Regions from separate parts of the Homo sapiens genome. Here regions 1 and 3 are each linked to region 2. The links are contacts of gene promoters, found by promoter capture Hi-C in blood cells and fetal thymus (Javierre and others, 2016). All regions are on one chromosome and are shown on one strand. The core of a region is centred on a gene start or on the middle of the fragment in contact, and the rest is flanking DNA. Distances in the headings are between cores, read along the strand shown. Region 1 has its middle 41 kb from the start of FAM156A. Region 2 holds the start of SLC38A5 (solute carrier family 38 member 5). Region 3 has its middle 61 kb from the start of MIR8088.

Region 1 (4,650 bases), core at 1,107-3,606, 4.5 Mb after region 2:
TGTCCCTGCTGAATTAGATCCACAGCTCCGGACCCCTATGCATGCTACTAGGTGCTGTGCCTGTGTCTGCAGAGGAAAGGAAGCCTCTCCCCAGAAACTGTGTCTAGGGACTGACTCACCTGCCCTTGGCCTGGGCCTCAGTCATGAGGGAAGACCCGCCCCACTTCCTTGACACACATTGGGACCCTCTACCCATCAGGATAAGGACACGTTCCAGTTATGGGGAGGCTCATGCTGTATACAGAATCCCCCATACCCCCTCCAGCCCTTGACTGCCGTCCTGCTGACTCTCAGTGCTGAAAAAATTCTTTTTTTTTTTTTTTTTTTTTGAGACAGAGTCTTGCTCTGTCACCCAGGCTGTAGTGCAGTGGCACAATCACGGCTCACCGCAGCCTCAACCTCCTGGGCTCAAGCAATCCTCCTACCTCAGCCTCCCAAGTAGCTGGGACTATAGGTGCACGCCACCATGCCCAGCTGATTTTTTTGTTTTGGTTTTGGTTTCTTTGAGACAGAGTTTCCCTCTGTCACCGAGGCTGAGTGCAGTGGTGTGATCTCGGCTCACTGCAACCTCCACCTCCTGGGCTCAAGCGATTCTCATGCCTCAGCCTCCCGAGTAGCTGGGATTACAGGCATGCACCACCATGCCCGGCTAATTTTTGTATTTTTAGTAGAGACAGGGTTTCGCCAGGTTGGACAGGCTGGTCTCAAACTCCTAGCCTCAAGTGATCCACCTGCCTTGGCCTCTCAAAGTGCTGGGATTACAGGCATGAGCCACCATGCCCGGCCTGATTTTTTTTTATATGTTTTGTAAAGACAGGGTTTTGCCATGTTGCCCAAGCTGGTTTTGAACTCCTGGGCTCAAGCCATCTGCCTGCCTCGGCCTCCCAAAAGTGCTGGGATTACAGGCGTGAGCCACCATGCCTGGCCTGAAAAAAATTCTTTCAAGGGGGAAGAAGAGGTAGGAATCTCTACATTTGCTGGTGGACCTCATGCCAATGGATGAATCTGTGGTATTTCCCCACTCTTTACCTCATGCCACCACTTCCACAGGTAACGTGAGGATTGCATTCTCAACATCCATTACCAAGCAGGGTGTGCGACAGAGAGACAGAGAGGCAGACCTCCCACCAGTGAGTCAGTGATGGGGCCCTTGAGGCCCTGGGCAAACCTCTTCCTTTCCCCTTTCCTTGTCATCTCCCATTGACCCCGGCTGTGCCTGAGCCTTTCCCTGTCTCCTCCAGTGAGTCCAAGTTACAGCCAGTTCCTCCCTCTTCATGAGGACTGTGTGAGCACAGGCCCTACCCTCACTTGGCTTCAGCCTCCTCATCTGCAAATGGTGAGCTCCTCATTGGCAATTTGGCAGATTGAGTTAACATGGGTTACATGGGTTTGTCACAGGGGTCGGCCCTGAGCAAGGATGGGGTTAATGTCTGCAGACATTGTCATTAGTATTTGTACCACTGGCTCCTACATGCTACACTGAGGACTTGCCCTCCCTAAGGATAAGGATCCTATGTTTTCATCTCTCTGATACCAGGGCACCTTGTTCTACCCCTGTGAGAGAAAGGACCATCCTGCCTTCCTCACAAAAATATCCTGATATATGAGCAGCTCGGAGACCTAACCTTCTGGACAAAGACCTCCCACAAAAATGTTCAAAGATCTCATGCCTTAGGACAGTGCCCACAAGCAGTTCAGAGACCTCTCACCCTAGACACCAACCACCAAACAGCTCAAAGATGCCACACCTCAGGACACAGACCCCCAACCAGCTCAGAGAATTCCTACCTCAAGGTAACAGCTCACAATAACTCAAGGACCTCACACACCAACCCACAAAGAGCTTACCAGCTACACCCTGGTACACATACCCACAAAGAATCAGCTCAGGGCTGCTGTGTGATGCTGAATCTCTGTGCCATCCAACACTGTTATGGGGAGGCCTTGGATCTTGTAGTTCCCCACAGTCTGCAGTCACCACCGTTGTTGTCATGAGGAAGGCAGGTTCACACCAGGGATGGGGAAGGACCCTCTGGGACTGAGGGGATCAGAGAGTAAGCTCTCATATCTGGCTCCCAGGAATGGCCATCGTCTGACCAACCCTGATCACCTTTGGTCCTGGTGACTTTTGTATCTTGCCCCATGGGGGCTTCAGGGTAAATCCCAGAACACAGTAGGAGACCCCTAGACCCCGTTATCTTTGCCATCTCTCAGCACCCACTGTGGGGAACTGGATCTTGGAGAGAGAGTAGAGGTCCTCCCTTCACACTGCCAATGGCAACCCCCATTATGGCCCTTCTGAGCATTCTGGTCCTTTCTCCCAAACTTCCTCTCCAATTGGCAGCTGCCACACCTCCTCTCTCTCCCCAGCTCCCCACCCTTGTGAGCCACCAGGGCTCCCCTTCCACCACGGACCTCTACCTCCCTACCCCAGCCCTAGTCATGGGGCCTCAGTTATACCCTCTCACGCCCACTTCGGTCCTCTCACCCGGCACCTAGGCCTACCTCAGAGGACCCCCTCAGGACCCTCCCTGCACTTCCTGAAAGTGCAGACCATTTTGCAGGACAGATATCTCTCCTGCCCCCACACAGGTTTCTGTCACAACATCCCTGTTAGGGCAGAACTGGAAATGTCTCCCAGATCCAGATGAAACTCCAGACCCAGACTGAGAGTCCAGGGCAATTCGCCTAGGGCTGGAGGGGGCGGGGTGGGATTCCTGAAGGAGGCGCTGGGGTGAGTGTCACCTCAGGAGATGGGAGGACACTGCCCAGCTGGGTCTGTGAGGACAGAGAAGGGACCCTGGGAGGGACAGGGGCAGCATGAGCGCTGGGAGTGTCCCAACTGCGGTCCTCCGGGAATTGTCATCTGGCCCCAGCTCTGCCCCACCCTGGTTGGAGGGCCCCAGCCAGGGATCTGCCTTCTTGGCGCTCCAGTGTCCTCATCAGCGACAGAGGTGACAGGGCTTTCTTCCAAAGGTGCTAGTGGGGATTAAATGAGATGGCACATAAGAAAGAAGTGCTTGGGACACTGCAAGTCAGATCTGTGATGACCTAAAACTTAGAGCCCTGCGCACTGAGCGCCAGATGACCCCTTGCGAGTGGTCTCACTTAAGCCCTGCCTGTGACTTGGGAAGCATCTTTAGCCTCATACTGAACAACAGTCCAAGTCTTGAAGACTGGATCCCACTGGTCATCCAGTCCTTAAAGCCCAGGCTCCGCTTTACGAACTTCCGCCCATCAGCCACTGTGCCTGACCGTGCGCGAGCGCGAAGACCCAGGGACCCGGCTCTACGAGTGCATCCCGCTGTACTCTGTAAGAGCCGCACTCTCTAGGTGAGCTTCCCAGAGCGGTCCTTGATGCCTTCCTGCCTTGATCGTCCCACAACCGATCGACTGCCCCTTTGCAGGTTCCTAATTTATTCAGATCTGTAGAACGGAGACGGGCGTGGCCAAAAATGGGACTAGAGGGGTCTCCGAGAAGTCGGAGAATGGGTGTCAGCTTGGGCCTGGGTGGAAACCAGGAGGACGGATTGCCGCCTGGGGCGCTCGCCGCCGCGCCCGCCCTACTGTCGAAAGGTGGGGCTGATTTCGTTGGTGGGCGGGGGTGGGCTTTATTGTCCCTCCACACACAGCATTTGTATTCTTACAAAATAGAAGCTCCCTTCCCCTATGGTATCTCGCATAATGGTGTGTTCATTTCCGGTACCCGCAATGGTATGTTACATCCTCCACGCCTCATCCCCAGCTGCACACTCACAGGAGGTGAGATCCAAGAGGGGCCAGCTATTTCATACTTAGGTCCTGTGGATTACTCTAATGGTTCTCAAACTTTAGTGTGCATCAAGAATCACCTAGAGAGCTTGTTAAAACACAGATTGCTGGGCCTCACCTTTCAGAGTTTCTGATTCAGTGGGTCTGGGGAGGGGCCCAAGACTTTCATTTCTTTTTTTTCTTCTTCTTCTTTCTTTCTGTTTTTGCTTTTGAGATGGAGTCTCGCTCTGTTGCCCAGGCTGCAGTGCAGTGGCCGAACTCGGCTCACTGCAACCTCCACCTCCCAGGTCAAGTGATTCTCATGCCCCAGCCTCCGGAGTAGCTGAGACTACAGGCGCACACCACCACACCCGGCTAATTTTTGTATTTTTAGTATTTTTAGTAGGGACGGGGTTTTACCATGTTGGCCAGGCTGGTCTAGAACTCCTGACCTCAGGTGATCCGCCCGCCTCAGCCTCCCAAAGTGCTGGGATTACAGGCATGAGCCACTGCACTCGGCCAAGACTGCATTTCTAACTGTGCCCAGCCACTCTTCCACACAGCTAAGTAGACTTTTATTCCCACCTTCCTCCACTGTATTACTAGTAGACCAGCCCTTCCCCATCTTTTTCTCCCTCTCTCCCCAACAACACACCCAGATAAAGTCTTATCACCAGACCCTGAAGATCTTAAAGGGAGCAAAGGTCTAAGCATCGAGTCCACTGCCACAGAGCTCCTGCCCCATGAGTGGTGTGACTATGCCAGTCAACAAACTTTTCTTCTCCTGCACCACTGATGAATAACATCAGAGCAGCATCTATCAAAATGAAAAATCCTTATATGTAAGCCCTTAGAATGTTACATCCATGAGGGCAGGGGCATTTTCCTATCCAGTTTCCT
Region 2 (3,247 bases), core at 1-2,500:
CTCAGAAACCCCCATTCAAGGTCCCCATTAGAGCTCAAACTGGCTCAGGAAATCCTTTTCCCAAGTCCTGAATCCCGTTCCTGGGACAGGGAGGGTCTCAAGGAGTCCCATCCCCCACCACCAGCACCCTCCGGAGCCTCCCACCCACACCTGAATTCACTTCCTGGGATCAGGGTACAAAAAGGACCTCCCCATACACGCCATTCCATTCCCCACTAGTGCTAAAATGTCTCCAAGGAACCCCGAGCCCCCTCCCAGGACCCCTACTCATATCTCAGGCCCCCAGGAACACCATCCCCGCAGCCCACGCTCCCTCCTCACCTACCTGCTCCTCTCAGCTCCTGAAGTGGCCGCAACTCAGACTCAGGTTCGGGCACCCTCTCGGCTGCCTAGGCTCCTGCTCTGGAGCGGTACTTTTTTTTTTTTCCTGAGAAGAAATGTTAATTTTAATTTCGTTTCCCTCCTTCTGGCCCTGGGCGGGGGAAGAGGTGGAGAAGGGGCGCCCCCTATCTGGACCCACTTGGAGGGAGACAGCGGTTTGTTTGTGTGTTGATGGTGGGGGAAATGGCCTGAAAGATTGAGGGTGTAGACCCACAGCTAGAGAGAGTGACAGGCAGACAGAGGGGATGGACTCACAGAGCAGACGGACAGCAGGATGGGATGGATGGCAGAAAAAGGTGCAGAGAGGAGACAGAGAGAGAGTAGGAGAACTGAAGTTACAAAGAAAGCAGGCATGAGAAACAGCACAGGAACAGACAGACCACAGAAGGGACAGAAAGACAGATGGGCGGGAGGAGGGGATGCTAGGGGAGCTTGGAAGACAGGCAGAGACAGGGAGAAAGGGACACACAGGCAGACTCAGAAACAAACAGGTGGGTAGGGATAGGCTCGTGGAAACACCTGCAGAAAGGCAACAGGCAATTGGGCTCAGTCATAGACAGGAGACACAGGCTGGCCAAGAGGTGGGGGACAGAGCCAGACAGCTCCCCAAACAGAGGGTAGGACCAGACACACCAGCTCAGAGAGATGAAGGGGCAGAGAGAGTGGTTGAGGCAGAGAGACTCCTGGAGGGACAGGAGAAAAGAGGCAGAGAGAGGCAGATTCAGGCAGAGAGGCCTGGGGACAGCAGGGGAACAGGTGCAGGGGTAGTAGCCAGGCTATTCCAGGCAGACCTCAGGCAGACAGCCTAGGCACGAGAGGACCCTAGATCTTGGGGGCCCCCAGAGGGAGGCAGGGAGGGCATTTGTGGCTGGGTGGGGAATGTGGACTGTGAACTCACACTGTCCGCAAACTGGGCGGGCACTGTAGTCCTGGACCCCACCCCAAGCGTGGGGTGGGGCTTGTCCAAGCCCTGAGAAGTCCCACTATCTGTCTGTCCGTCTGTCTTCTATGGGAGTCCGTCTGTTCACTCCCCTCCAGGCATATGACAGGCATGCCTGTCCCAGGCAAGCCACGTGTCCGCTACAGGATGTCAGGCAGGGTGGACTTGGGGTCTGGGACCACCTCGACTGGGCTGCTTGAAGCCCAGGTGGACAAGAGGCCTCTGTCTGGGCCCCTCGCCCGCCTGCCCACCCCCGACAGGGAACACAGAATTCCCGGAAAGGCCAGGAGCTGGCTGGGGCTTCAAAGCTGGCCTAGATGCCCTCACCCCACCCACAGTTGGAGGAGGACAAGGGATGGGGCGTTTACTTCCCCACAGCGGGAGAGAGACTCCTGCACACTCAGGAATCGCAGCTACACAACAGGACCCATCACAGCCCCATCAAGGGGCTCAGATACGGGGGCCAACTCGCCATCACTCACAGAGGTGCACAAAGACTCACAGCCACACAAGAGAATAAAGACTGACAGACATGAACACACACAGACTCACCACTGCACGTTAAGAGCAATGGCTCATGGGACAGTCACACACGTGGCCACACAGAGTGACGATAGTCTTACAGCTATCAATACCGACAGGCTCAGAGCCGCTCACAGAGAGCACAGACTAACACAGGGATAGGCTTGTGCCGATTTCCAGACACTCGAGACTCCTGAACCTCACCGCCCGTGGACCCACAGCCATGCCAAAGACAATCAACAGGCAAATCACACACACAGATTCACAGCCACACACAGAGCACACAATTACACACAGCTGATGACATTGTGTGTGGGTCCTGGGTCTTTCCCACACACACGATCCAGGTTCAGATGGCCCTGGATCTGAACCTGAATCCAGGTTCAGATGACCCTGGAGGCAAACTTCCAGGTTCAAGCCCTAAAATGATATCTCTGTGTATGTGAACTTGAATGTGCACTTGTGACCACATGTAACCACATACAGCTCCAGTCACAGAGAGAGGCACTCATAGGCTGACATGATTTTTGTACAAACAGAAAAGCCATAGTCTCCTTCTCTCTCTCTCTCCTCTCTCTCTCTCTCTCACACACACACACACACACAACTGCATTTCAGCAAATGGCTGCACACAGCCGTGTACACACACAGCTAGTCACAAATCAAGTCAGAAAAGAAACATATAGGGAAAGCATATACCTGCACACAAACACAAAGCACAGGAATGCAGAGTACGCTTACTATCGTTGCAAAGAAAAAATCCAGAAACCACACTGAAAGCTACACAAGGAAAAAACAAGAGAACCAGATAGTACTCATACCATGGCACCAGAAGAAACACCCCGAGGGCACACATACCTGCAGCCACTCGCTAAGAAGAGACACAAATACAGCAGCAGACACACAAAGAAAGATACGTGCGCATAGATACACATATAGGAGGGACAAGTACTCTGACACACTTGTCACCCACGACCATTACAAAGGAGACAAACACCCAAGCAACACACACACACAACAACATATAGATGAACTGCACCGACAGACAGTACCAATGCACACGGTTGCCAAAAAAAAAAAAAAAAAAAAGGTATGAGTTGGGCCGGGTGCAGTGGTTCATGCCTGTAATCCCAGCACTTTGGGAGGCCAAGGTGAGTGAATCATGAGGTCAGTAGTTCGAGACCAGCCTGGCCAACGTGGCGAAACCCCGTCTCTACTAAAAATACAAAAAAAATTAGCTGGGCGTGGTGGCGGGTTCCTGTAATCCCAGCTACTCGGGAGGCTGAGGCAAGAGAATTGCTTGAACCTGGAAGGCGGAGGTTGCAGTGAGCCAAGATCGCGCCACTGCACTCCGGCCCAAGCGACAGAGTGAGACTCCATCTCAAAAAAAAAAAAAAAAAAAAG
Region 3 (4,064 bases), core at 1,238-3,737, 3.8 Mb after region 2:
ATGAGATAGATGAAAGTATAGATGTGGTAGTTGTTTGCAGGAGTTACGTTTATGTTCATAGGTCTGTATTAACTTCCTAAATTTTTGCTTCTTGTATTCCTGAAATGACTGAGTTTGAAATAATTCCAATTGCTGCAAATAGTTGTGGTGGTTTTCTTAGATGATATTTATCTAGTGAAGGTAAATTTGGTAAAATGAACTGCTTGTCATATCCTTGTCCCTCAAATTACATAACTTGTGGTTTGATGTATGTGACTTTAAGTTCTTTTTTGAAAAATATTTTGACTCTCCTAGGTGCTGGTTTGTAAATTAATCTTAATGGGTTAATTAGGATAGGTTCAACTAAATTTGGTTTTCATAATTTAGATAGAGGGTTTGTTATTCCTTTGGTACACTGTGGTGTCCAGTGGTGTGTTCCTAAGCAATGTGTCAGTCCAGCATCCTCTGCGAATTATGCATGGCCCAAGGTTCTGGGGTTTAACATAGCATTTTGCAAAAGAGATATCTCTAGCTACAAATACAGGTAAGTGGGAGTCTAGTTTGGCTATATTTTGATAAATAGGATGTTGGACTGACCATATAACTTTATTCTATGATCCATCAAATGGCTGAATCATGAAGAAAAAGTAATTTGACATACCTGAGTCTATTTTTGTGACTTTATCCATATTTATTTTGGTTCCTAGTGTTTCCCACCAGTTAATTGACTTAAATTGTGTATTGTTTCTATCTACATCTTCAAAATTAAAGTTTACATCATCCTGAATTACCAGTGGATACATTGTAAAAATAACTTGATTTTGTATATACTTAGTTTTCCTGGTAAATTTGTCTAATATAGTTATGTCTCTTGGTTCATTTCCTGTAAAGAATGTGCCAATAACCTCTGCTGTTTTGTAGGTCAGTGTGAATGGTCCAAGTACTAAGAGTGAGTTAGATAATAGCAGATTGTATATATCTGGTCTGTGAGTAGATGTGAATATTAATTGTTCCCATTTTGTTTGTTGTAATTTATCAAAAATAACTGTTTCTAATGTCCAGTTTCTAATGTCCATGGGTTTCTAGAAGATGTCGACATCCAGCAATCAGTAAATTTAGTAGGGATTTTCTATGTCATTGTATCTATTGTGATGACTGGGAACTAGTGTGGTTTTTGTGGTTGTGTCCAACATAAGCCTGCTTTGGTTTCTGTCACATTCCACCATAGAGTGGACTTTCCAGTTATGATAACATATCTGTCTACATTCTCTATAAACTCTTTGCTTATTGTGTAAAGGTAGTTTTGATATATTGTAGCCAAGTTTGCCATTTAATGTTGTAAATTTAGCATGTGTTTTATTATGCCAAAGTCTGAATTGTGCTGTGTCTGTTGGTTTGTTTTGTTTTGTAAAGCCTGTTGATCTTGGAACGTGTAACCATGTTAGTAAGCAACTTATAGTGTAGAATGGGCAAGGATAAGGTTTTCATCCGTGGGATAATGAAATGTAGCTTTAATATATGTAAAGTTAAGGTTAAAGCATATTAATGTTGGTTGTCCCTCAAAATGTATATCTTGTTGGGTAGTGTTGATTCTATTTTTTATCTTTATAAGTTCCTTATTTGTGGAGGGCAAGTATAAGTATACTTGTATTCAAGACAAGCTTTATCTACATACATTGTTTTAGTGTGTGTTTCAAAGGTAGTGTGTGTAAAGTGATAGTCAGCATTAGTTAAGATTACTGGGTGTCATCTATGTTTTCAATATAATTCTGCCAGTGAGAATTTTTTAGCCTTATTAAAGAATTGTTACTCCAGCTCTCTTTTGTCTAATAAAAAGAAAAAAGAAGAATTGTGAGACTGTCAAATAATTTTGGCTTTTTGCGTAATAATCATAAGATGAACAGGGTGGGTGAAGGCAAAATTTCCAAAAAACAGCAAGTTAGGAAAGTTAATTAGATGATAGTTATAGTATGTCTTATCCTCTTCTGTTGTTATTATATCATAATCTAATGGATATCCTAGTGGCATTGACACTTTTTCCTGTGGGGGTCTGATATATGGGTGTAAGATGAAGTGGTTGGTTTTGTAGCTATATTTAGTCTTGTGTCATCCCTTGAATCTACTTCATAATCATAATGTTCATTTCCTTCAAGTCCAGATTGGTACCAGAATTCATACCAACTATTAACAAATGACTTGTAGGAGTGTCGTATCATATCCAAGCATGTCATGTGAGATCTTCCAACATATGGTTCTATCTGTGGTACTATGATTGGGGATTGGTATGATATAGCGCTTCTTATGTAATGAACTGTTTTGATTGGCATGTCTGTTTCTATTAGCATTTCTCTACCTATTATGTGAGCCATCCATGGTTTGAGATGTTATTGAATGCTTCATTGTAGCTGCATAAGTTGGGGTGTCACATTTAGTCATGTCATTTATGCATTCTTCTAAAGTATGTTTAGGAATATGCGCAAAGATTCTATAAAGATACAATGATTGGAAGTGTGTGTAAAAGCTAAAAGCTCTTCAGGCATTGCTTTGGGTCAAATGAATATGAACAAAATAGTCTAATTGAAGCTCTAAGTATTCTTTTATCAGTCCCTTGACTTTCTAACAATTGTTCAAAAATGATATATTTTCATGAAGTATATATTGCGGAATTTGTTCTGGTAATCGTGTGATTTTAGGTGCTGTATGAGTTGGCACTGTTGGATATGTATGTGTTTGAGGCTCAGAAATTTTAATGGTTACTTTAGGAATAAACAGTAGTAGCAGTAGTAGTAGTAGTAGTAGTAGTAGTAGTAGTAGTAGTAGTAGTATCTGTTATTTCCCTTCTATATCTCCTAACATATTTTAAGCTATTTGCATCAATCTTATGTTTGCTATTAATTATCAGATGTATAGGCATTAAATATAGCACTGAAAACAAACTAAGATATAATAATCTATGTCATCCTAATATTTCTCTAAGTAGTATAGTCAAAGATTGCTTCCAGTAGTAGTATTGCTGCTGGGTTAGGTTGGGGTAGAACAAAGTAAGGTAGTTCTATGGGGTCTGTCCTCTCTTATTAAGCAGTTTAGCAATGCAACTTATATAATAGGTTAGTAGCCAAGCAAGACTTATGCAGTCATTGGGGTGTACACTTTCAACTAAACCTTCAATAGCTCCTAATGCTGCAGTTAGTTCATAAACGTAAGGAGCAGGAAGGTGGCAGTGGCGCCTAGATTCTACAAAGTCTGGTCTGAAATTCCAGTCCATGCCTGCCTGTATGGGCCAGTCTGCTTGAGCTAATTCCTGAAGGAAATCTGGTGAAGGGGCTCTGAAAGCTATAGGTGGCGAACATGAGGCTGAAGCTTAAAAGGAAGGAGGGCAAGGCGGGATATACATGGATGATGGAGATCCTGGAGAGGCTAAGTCCATATGCTGGGGATGCATTATAGCTGTCAGTCTGCAAATTATTAATCAAATAATATACTTAACAAGCAGATAGTGAAATTTGTAATTTTTCTGCTGTGAGGGGTGTGTGTGCTTGTGTTAGTTTGATTTATCTGGTTACAGTCTCCCTGGTGGCAATATAAGTAATAACAAGGCAGTAAAGTTACTATGATGGCTAATATGAGGTGAATGAGAAAGTTGATAAGACCAGTTGAGAAGCTACACAAATTTGTAGCCATCTTGATGTCCTAAGTGAGTAAAGTATTTAATTATTCCAGTGATAGCTAGGAGTGATGTTGAAGTTAAAAATATTAGATTAGTGGTAAGCAAAATTGGATTGAAGTACACCTTCACTTATTCTCGTGGATAATATTAATGCAATGACTAGAATAAAGCATTGTAAAGAGAGATTGGAGATTTTGTCTAATTCTAACTCTCCTGTTTCCTGTAGTCTAACATGTGTTTCCGTGTCCATGGGCCACAGTGTCCTGTTGGGAGATAGTGTTGTTATTTAGTCTAGTGCTCACCTTGTAAGGTATAATATTTGTATCATATTCTTCCTTATCTTTTGTGACAGTTAAGTTTGGGTGATTAAGATAAGAATGGAGGCTGCTCTTATAGTCTTTCTCTTTGATTTAAGTTG

The links. The method cuts DNA at HindIII sites, captures the fragments that hold promoters and counts their contacts. A CHiCAGO score of 5 or more calls a contact.
Region 1: a contact is called between a fragment that was not itself captured here and the fragment with the promoter of SLC38A5 in region 2, in 1 of 17 cell types (monocytes). The highest score is 5.6, in monocytes.
Region 3: a fragment that was not itself captured here is called in contact with the fragment with the promoter of SLC38A5 in region 2 in 1 of 17 cell types (neutrophils); the score reaches 5.9 in neutrophils.

Annotation. Positions count from the first base shown.
Region 1 is chrX:52,997,314-53,001,963 of GRCh38, forward strand. No RefSeq gene overlaps it. Among named protein-coding and RNA genes, the nearest start is that of FAM156A, 41 kb to the left of the region's middle. The HindIII fragment of the contact is 8,235 bases long and covers 1-4,650 here.
Region 2 is chrX:48,469,010-48,472,256 of GRCh38, forward strand. SLC38A5 (solute carrier family 38 member 5) reads right to left here and starts at 1,251. Exons shown (of 17, transcript NM_033518.4): 1 at 1,173-1,251; 2 at 326-427. The HindIII fragment of the contact is 10,592 bases long and covers 1-3,247 here.
Region 3 is chrX:52,273,202-52,277,265 of GRCh38, forward strand. No RefSeq gene overlaps it. Among named protein-coding and RNA genes, the nearest start is that of MIR8088, 61 kb to the right of the region's middle. The HindIII fragment of the contact is 1,699 bases long and covers 1,639-3,337 here.